Regions from separate parts of the Homo sapiens genome. Here region 1 is linked to region 2. The links are contacts of gene promoters, found by promoter capture Hi-C in blood cells and fetal thymus (Javierre and others, 2016). All regions are on one chromosome and are shown on one strand. Each heading gives the region's core, a stretch centred on a gene start or on the middle of the fragment in contact. The rest is flanking DNA. Distances are from core to core; before and after follow the strand shown.

What was found. The method cuts DNA at HindIII sites, captures the fragments that hold promoters and counts their contacts. A CHiCAGO score of 5 or more calls a contact.
Region 1: a fragment that was not itself captured here is called in contact with the fragment with the promoter of COMMD3 in region 2 in 1 of 17 cell types (neutrophils); the score reaches 5.3 in neutrophils.

What each region holds. Positions count from the first base shown.
Region 1 is chr10:22,703,245-22,707,789 of GRCh38, forward strand. The region is part of intron 1 of PIP4K2A (phosphatidylinositol-5-phosphate 4-kinase type 2 alpha); the gene reads right to left. Among named protein-coding and RNA genes, the nearest start is that of PIP4K2A, 9.1 kb to the right of the region's middle. RefSeq lists an enhancer at 1,132-1,191. The HindIII fragment of the contact is 4,316 bases long and covers 656-4,545 here.
Region 2 is chr10:22,314,799-22,318,957 of GRCh38, forward strand. It overlaps COMMD3 (COMM domain containing 3), which reads left to right and starts at 1,590. Exons shown (of 8, transcript NM_012071.4): 1 at 1,590-1,758; 2 at 3,086-3,197; 3 at 3,307-3,370; 4 at 3,474-3,508; 5 at 3,855-3,915; 6 at 4,008-4,064. The coding sequence starts at 1,620. It overlaps COMMD3-BMI1 (COMMD3-BMI1 readthrough), which reads left to right and starts at 1,590. Exons shown (of 14, transcript NM_001204062.2): 1 at 1,590-1,758; 2 at 3,086-3,197; 3 at 3,307-3,370; 4 at 3,474-3,508. The coding sequence starts at 1,620. RefSeq lists a silencer at 1,448-1,567 and an enhancer at 1,838-2,137. The HindIII fragment of the contact is 1,853 bases long and covers 284-2,136 here.

The DNA.
Region 1 (4,545 bases), core at 1,564-4,063, 390 kb after region 2:
CAAAAATTATAAAAATTATCCAGGCATGGTGGTGCACACCTGTAGTCCCAGCTACATAGGAGGCTGAGGCAGGAGGATTGCTTGAGCCCAGGACTTCAAGGCTGCAGTGAGCTATGACCATGCCACTGCACTCCAGCCCAGGTAACAGAGCGAGACCTTGTCTCAAATAAAAAAATAAATAAATAAAAGAGGGAAAAACATTCCCGACGAAGAGAAAAATAAAGACTGAAGAACTGTGGCTGCTCTGAGCTTGCCTTTAGGAACAGAAAAAGCGCAGGGCAGCTGGAACATAGGAATCATGAAGAGGGTGTTATGGGATGAGGGCAAGGAGGAAAGTGGGGCCCAGGCCAGTAAGATCCTGCAGGTCAGAAAAGGTTTGGATTTTATTCTAAATGCAATGTAAAGCCTTTGGAAGGTTTAACTGAGGACATGACATGAAATCATCTACAGTTTAGCAAGATTCCTCTGCCACTGCTGCAGACAAGGTGGACTGAAACAGGGCAAAACTGAATGCCGGGAGACCAAACAGGAGGCTACCACAGTGTTCCTGAGAAAGAAGATTCAAATAGAAAGCATGTGGATTCGGGACTCAAAAATTGGATGTGGAGAAGGAGTGGGGAGAAAAAAGCATAATCAAGGTTGCTCCCTACGTTTAAGCTTGAGCACCTGGGTCTATGGTGGTCCATTTTCTGAGACGGGAAGAGGCCAGTTTAAGTTATGACAGGGGACGGGGCAGAGTGCAGGGAGGAAATCAAGAGGCCTGCTTGGGACATCTGAGATGTCTATTAGTTATTCATGTGAAGATACCTGGTAAGAAACTGCATATAGAGCCCAAGAGGAAAGTTAGAGCTGAAGTTAAAAATTTCTCAATCATGACTGTAAAATGGTATAAAAAGCCATGAGACTAAATGAAATCATGTAGGTAAAGTAAATGTAATTGTAGAAGATGATCCTGGACACAGGCCTGGGGCATTCCAACATTTCCAGACTGAGCAAAAGAGGAGCCTGCACCTAAGGAGTGGCTAGTGAAGCAGAAGGAAAACAAGAGACAAAAAAAAAGGAGCCCCCTGCATTTGAAAATGTTAGCACTGCCAGTGATGCTGACTTGAGCAGTTTCCTAGGTGTGCTGGAGGTGAAAGCTAGATTGGGGTAAGTTAAGGAGATCATCGCAGGTAAGTTGACGGTTGCCAGGTACGGTGTCTCTATAGAAATAGGAGACCTCAGCTTTAGACAAGGCTTTTCACTCCTGCTATGAAAAGGAACAGGGCAGGTGTGGTAGCTCACATGTATAATCCCAGCACTTAGGGAGTCTGAAGCAGGACTGCTTGAGACCAGGAGTTTGAGGCAGCAGTGAGCCATGATTGCACCATGCACTCCAGCCCAGGCCAAAAAGCAAGACCTCATCTGAAAAAAAAAAAAAAAAAAAAGGAACAGAAAACACGAGAAGACACTAAAATGAGAGACTAAGGGTGAAGGAGAGCTTCTGCTGTTACTGTAGTTTATTTTGCTTTCAAGATGGGCGGCCCCGGAATGGTGAGCCATGTCAGTGGAAGACACTGCAATGGTGGGAATCGTCTATATCTGCACTGTTCAATCCAGTAACCACTAACCACATGTGGCTAGTGAGCACTTGATATGAGAAACTGAATTTTAAGTTTTATTAGCTGAAATTTAAATTGCCATATATAGCTAGCAGCTACAAAACCAGGCAGGGCAGCCCCTCCAGCATGTCTGTAGACTGACGGACCCAGCTGTCCAAAATTTAGATGGGATGGTGGGAAGAGTGGAAGCTGACGGCTTCTATTTGTTCAATGCTTTCTAAATGAGGTTATATGCTGAGGGAAGGACGGGGTGGGGGAAGTGGGGGACAGGACACTAGGTGAAGTTCAAGGAGAAGTGAAAAGGAAGAAATGACTTCAGAGAGTGGAGAACATATTAAAGGAGGCAGTAACACTTCCGGGTCGAGTGTCATTTGAGATTTGTGGCAAATTTTAAAGTAACCCTGGTCAGAACTGCTGGCTTTTCTCTGGCAAACATCAACCACTTGGCCCTTCAAAGGTGGCCTCAAACTACTCTTTCAACCATCTCCTGACACTCCCTTTATGTTCCTCTGTGGTTTTCAATTTTCTTGGCTGCAGGATCTTTTTTACCCCCTTTACGTATTATATTCAGTACCCCAGTTAAAAAAAAAAAAAAAAAAAAAAAAAAAAAAAAAAAAGGACAGAGAGATGACAATGAGGACAAAAACAAGGCTGTTCTGGAGGAAACTGAGGTAGGCCTAAATTCCCCCACCAGCTTGGCCCCCTCCCACCAGCCCCTGAGGCACATCTAAGGAATCTCAGGGCTTGAAACCAAAGATTTACCCTGATGGGTGTTTCTCAGACTTAAATATGCTGACGATCAACATGTCTTGTTAAAATGTACATTCTGCTCCAGCAGGTCTGCAGAGGCCCAAGCTCTGCATTTCTAACATGTTACTGGGTTCTGCCACTGTGGCCACACCCAAAGCCAACTACTCACATTCTCCGCTCTGCTTGGTTTTGCCCGCTGTCGGACCCTCAGCTGCATATGCCTTTCCCCATTGTATTAGTCTGTTCTCACGCTGCTGTGAAGAAATACCCAAGACTGGGTAATTTATAAAGGAAAGAGGTTTAACTGACTCAGTTCTGCAGGGCTGGGGAGACCTCAAGAAACTTACGATCATGGCAGAAGGGGAAGCAAACACATCCTTCTTCACATGGCAGCAGCAAGCAGAAGAATGAACACCCAGCAAAAGGAGAAGCTCCTTATTTAAAATCATTAGGTCTCGTGAGAACTAACTATCACGAGAATACGATGGGGAAAACTGCCCCCATGATTCAATTATCTCCAGCTGATCCACCCACAACACCTGGGGATTATGGGTACAATTCAAGATTAGATTTGAGTGGGGACACAGCCAAACCATATCACCCATCTTCTGCAGCTGGGAGATTCTATCTAATCCTCAAGGTCCTCCTCATTGTTACCTCCTCTCAAGGATTCTCCAAGTCCCCCAGGCAGAAGTAATCATGATCCAGTCCTGGTTAGCACCTTGGCAGATCTCCTACCACTATATCCCCCTCTTGCTGTGCTCCAGCCATGCCAGCTTTCCTGCAGTTGCCATAACAAGCCAAGCAAACACCAGCCTCACGGCCTTTGCACCAGCTGACCCCTCCGCCTGAAATGCTCTTCTCCCAAACTGCCTCATGTCTAAGCCCTTCACCGACGTCATGCCTTTGCTCAATGTTCTGCACGGTCTATTTAATACCTTCCACCCCTAGCATTCTGGACACTGTAGTTATTTACACATATATTTATTTTACGTCTGTGTCCCCTGTAGTTATGCACAATTTGAGAGCAAGGTCCACAATATATTCATTTTGCATCTGAAGCATCTTGCAGTGTCTCCATATTTAAAGACAAGGTGAAATATCAAGTCAATAGCTGACATAACTTGCAACTAATGGATGTGAATTAGATTTCTGACACTTCAAAGAACCTAATCGCTAGTGGAAGTGTGAAAAATACAAGAAAGAACATAACAAAATAGATACAGAAAGCAAAGCAAGGGCACAAGGGTAATTCTAAAATGATAATTCATAACTCAAAAATACACAAGGATGCCAAGAACAACGATGATGTTCTACTACAAAACAGGATAAAGTAACCATTGATTTAGCATACAATCTGATAATTTGCTACCTCTTAGCATTTAAGATATTAAAAAAAAAAATAGGATAGGCATGGTGGCTCAAGGCTCTATTTCCAGCACTTTGGGAGGCTGAGGTGAGAGGATTGCTTGAGGTCAGAAGTTTGAGACCAGCCTGGCCAATACAGCAAGACCCTGTCTCTATTTTAAAGGATAGTAATAATGACAGCTAGCACATTAAGAACTTACCATGTGCCAGCAACTATTTAGGCATCTTACAAGTATGAATTGATTTAATCCATATAACAAACTTCCAAAGTAGGTACCATTATTACCTCCTTTTATAATCAAGGAACTGAGAGGCAAAATAACTTGTTCAAGGTCACATAGCCAACCGAACAAGGACTCCAGAGCTCTTAATCACTGTGCCCAGGTAGCTGAAAAACTATAAAGATTTAGAATTGTGAGGCTTAGCTTTAGGTAAGTTACTGTTTTAAAACTCCCTACAACATTTTTCTTAAATAAATTATGTACTGGTTCTCTCCCTACATGCTCTGAACATTAACAATGATTTTCTTTCTATGAAGGGAAAAACTGGTTTTCAAGTAGTTTTCTCCCATGTTAACAGCTAATACTCTGTCCATCCAAGAAGAACAGCTCTTAAGACTAAGAAAATAAAAGAACTCAAAGAAATGAATGATTCCTGAGCTTGGCCCAGGCAGCACAGCTCAGTGGTTAACGGTACCGTTGTGAATCCCAAGTACTAGGCACTGTGACCCAGGCGGGTAATCAATTCAGCCTATGCGTGTTCCCCCCCAAGAATTCTTCCTGGCTGCTGCGTGCTCTCCCCACTTTCTCACCCCACACTATCCCCA
Region 2 (4,159 bases), core at 340-2,839:
CATAAAATACATGTGTAATAAACATAATAAGCTTGGGTGTTGTTAATATTGTTGAACATTTACACAACTCTGTCCTGACTATTCTCTATGTAATCAGGTATCATGAAGTTTTTCAACTGACATTTTACTACTAATGAGAAACAAATTAGGAAGATGAGTGATGGGAAGAAAAGATGAACATGATTAATAGGTGCTTGTTTCATAAAGACTCTAGGGAGACTTTTAAATCCTTCACTGCTACTATATTCTCACCGAGTGAGGAGCCACTGCACGTGCCTTTTAAAGCTTTCAAAGGAGGGCTGAGTAGTTACTCAATCTGTTACTGATGCTTACTCCATTTGCATCCTGTTGTGAAATGAGGTACACTTTATGTATTGGTGCCAAGGTAAATGTCAACTGTATCCATCAAAAATTTTTAAAACAGACATCTAAGTTAGAAAAAGAAAATAATGTTTCACTTTGGGTCTAATGTTGCAAATAATCGCTCCTGAAGACTAAAACATCTTTGTTGTTCCGCATCCCTTCCCTCCACCCTTCAAGAACTTGCATTTTTTAACTTTTCAAGTGCTTTTGATTAAAAATACCTAATCTACTTTGCTTCACGGGTTTTTTAAAGAATCATTCTTGTTCTCTAAACCAACTTCGTAGAAATAGAGAGGAAGTTAAACTTTATACAGTATTTGAATCTTTAAAGGTATGAGCATCCTAAACAGTAACTCACTTCTAATAAAGATCTTGCCATTCCTAACTGTACTTTACTAAGGTAGCTGTTTAATAAAAACGTATTTATGCAGATTCTATAGAGCAACTAAAACGGGACCCATAGATGTGGTGAGTAGCACAAAATGTGTATGGCAGTTGGCTTTATTTGCAGCGGCATATAAAATTGTTAATAATCCTGTCAAATCTGTTCATGAATAATTTATTAATCCGATTGCTGGAGTGCAGTGCATACAGGAACTCTATGTATGCGTGCATGTGTACACACCCCCCATGCAGGAAGGACACTACTGCCGTATTCCAGAAATGACAAAAAAAAAAAAGTAAAAATAAGCAAGAATCACATAATTAGATGTCTTACAGTCTCATAAAAGGGCAGTGCTGCGAGGTTAAGCTGGTGAGCTAAAAAACAAACAAAACAAACAAAAAACCACAAAAGCAAAATCCAGTTGCCTGAGATCGGAGCTTCCCGCAGGATTCGCGCAGAGCGAGGAGCGGGGAGGACGCCGTTTGCGGGAGGCGGGGGCCGGGATCCCGACACCGTCCGCAGTCTCCCCGGGGTCTCTCAGGGAACCGAGCTGGTGGCCGTCCGAGGTAAGCGCCGAACCAAGGAGAAAGCGCCGAGCGCGTCCACAAAACGCCCGAGGCCGCCCTTCTCGCCAAGGCTCGGCAGCTCCCGCGGCCTGCGCTGGACAAGCGAGAGCTGGACGGAAACGGTGGGAGGCCGTAGGCGGCGGCTGGGGGCGCGGGACCCGCGCGCGGGCGCGGAGGCGGGCGGGGAGGCCCCGCAGCCCGCGCCGCCGCCAGCCGCCCCGAGCCGCGTGCGCGCGCGGCCGCATCAGCTGAGCGCGCGGCGCGTGTCACGTGGTGTGCGTGTCGAAGGTCACGGCGCGCTCACAATGGAGCTCTCGGAGTCTGTGCAGAAAGGCTTCCAGATGCTGGCGGATCCCCGCTCCTTCGACTCCAACGCCTTCACGCTTCTCCTCCGGGCGGCATTCCAGAGTCTGCTGGACGCCCAGGCGGACGAGGCCGTGTTAGGTAAGCCGCTCGGCTCGGCTCGGAGCTGGATCCGCCGGGGTGGAGGGGCGCTCGGAGAAGAGGAGCCGGCGGAGCGAGAAGGGGAAAGCCCCGGGAAGAGGAAGTCTCCGGGCTTTGCCCTTCGCTCCGGACGGAGTGTTGGGGACGTGGCTCTGCCAGGACTCGGAGCAGACTCTGAGCATTGTTTTGGCCCCACTTGGCACCTGCATAGAGCCAACTCCACGTTCCTGGCCCGGTTTCCCTCCCAGTCTCTTTGTTCTTTTGTAAAGCCGGTGTTCAAGTCTTGTTTGTGGCCTAAACATCTAAGGTGTTTAGCCTTGTCTGAGGCTGCGGCTGTTTTGACAGTTGGACTTCATCTGGGGAGCTCCCTGCAATTCAAGCTTCCAGGGCTAGGCTAGCAAAGGTTTAAGGGTCTGTTTCCGAAGTAATTACTAGGTCAGACAGTGTTGACATTTGCCAACTTAGAGCATACCTCAAGTTGCTATGATCACTCCAGCGCTCTAGTTCAGCATGTTTACACAGGTTCTACGCCTAGAACCTTAAACTATGATGCACAATACTTTGTTCCGCCCCAGTTACCAGGATGCGAGTGTCTTTTAAGCGATCCGGTCAGTGACTGCGGAGGTGCAGTGTCAGTATGGATTGAAGACATATTTTAAGACCGATCGCTTTTAGATGATTTTCTTAAATATAAATATCCCAACAATTCAAATTTTTGTTTTTTTTCTGTAGTTTCATGAACTAAACACTTGTACAAAAAGTATGAAAGTGGAAGTTCTTAAACGAAAATAGTAACCACCACCTGGGTTAATCTCAAAAAAAAAATGACTGTCAAACCCTGAAAGTACTAATATAATTTTGAAATTTGTATCTTATATTCTGAACTCATGCCCTACCTTCTACCCCCTTGATGTATTTGTTCATGGAGCCGGTTACCCTAAACTCATCATTTTTAGGATGGAAGTTTATTCTAAAATTGACACAATGTAAAATATTTATCTTGTTTTTCCTTTGAATTTACTCCAGTGTTAGAATGACCATTGCATTGTTATATTTTCTTTGGGGGCTATAATATTTTTTAATAGTAAAAATATTAAGGCAAAATAAGTTAATTGAAGCTAGTAATAGTAGAGTTCTTGTTGTGTTCTTTTTATTGTTTTTCACTTGATCTTGTTGCTCATCTCATTTACTTATAATTGACTGTCCTTATAGTTGATGTTTTTAATCTTGTTAAAGGGTTTTTAAACCCAAATTAAAATATCCTTTTTGGAACATGACTGTAAAGAATTTATTATCATAGGCATCACTGGAAGTTAATTTATTTTAGATCATCCAGACTTGAAACATATCGACCCAGTGGTTTTAAAACATTGTCATGCAGCAGCTGCAACTTACATACTAGAGGCAGGAAAGCACCGAGCTGACAAGTCAACTCTAAGGTACAGGATTTATTTAAATATCCATTTATTTTCAAATACTACCTTAATGATTTCAATTTCAGTTTTAAAAATGGAGACAGAACTTTGGCTTTTTTTTTCTTTCTTCTAGCACTTATCTAGAAGACTGTAAATTTGACAGAGAGCGAATAGAACTGTTTTGCACGGAATATCAGGTTACTTACTTTAAAATTTTTAATTAACAGTACTATTTTTCTTTTACTTTGTTTGTAAAGATGTTTTTTTTTCTTTCTTTCTTGCTTTCTTTTTTCTCTCCAGAATAATAAGAATTCCCTAGAAATCCTACTGGGAAGGTAGGTACTGTATAAGGTGTCAAGCTGAGGCACTTTTCACTTGCAGGTATGAATGGAGAGTGTTGGTGTGAAACAAGATCTTCGGGATCTTGACCCAAAGAAAAGGAGCCAAAGGGCATGTCAAGCAATTGAAGTTAAGCTCATGTTTTTAAAGATCGTTTATTGAGATGATTTTGAAATGCTCCTTTACCATTCATAATTTAAAAATAAAGTTTAACAATGGTTTAAATTCAGAATGGATTAAAATGGAGTTGGGGGTGGAAAGTAGAGCCATTCTTAGTAAATATAAATAACTGAAAAGTTCTTCTGAGGAGACTATGTACGAAGTTATCATTGCATCTTTCAGTATAGGCAGATCTCTCCCTCATATAACGGATGTTTCTTGGCGCTTGGAATATCAGATAAAGGTAAAGTTTAAGAAACTTCTCTAGCGGGGGATTTAGGGAACTTCTTAAAACCTAGAGTTAAAAGCTGTTGCGTGTTTGTTGTGTTATTTTAGACCAATCAACTTCATAGGATGTACAGACCTGCATATTTGGTGACCTTAAGTGTACAGGTATTTATAGATAAGTCTTATCCAATAATGAAATTTATAATTTCATTGATTTAAATAAACAGCGTTTCTTGTTGCGTGTTTTTTTTCCTGCCCTA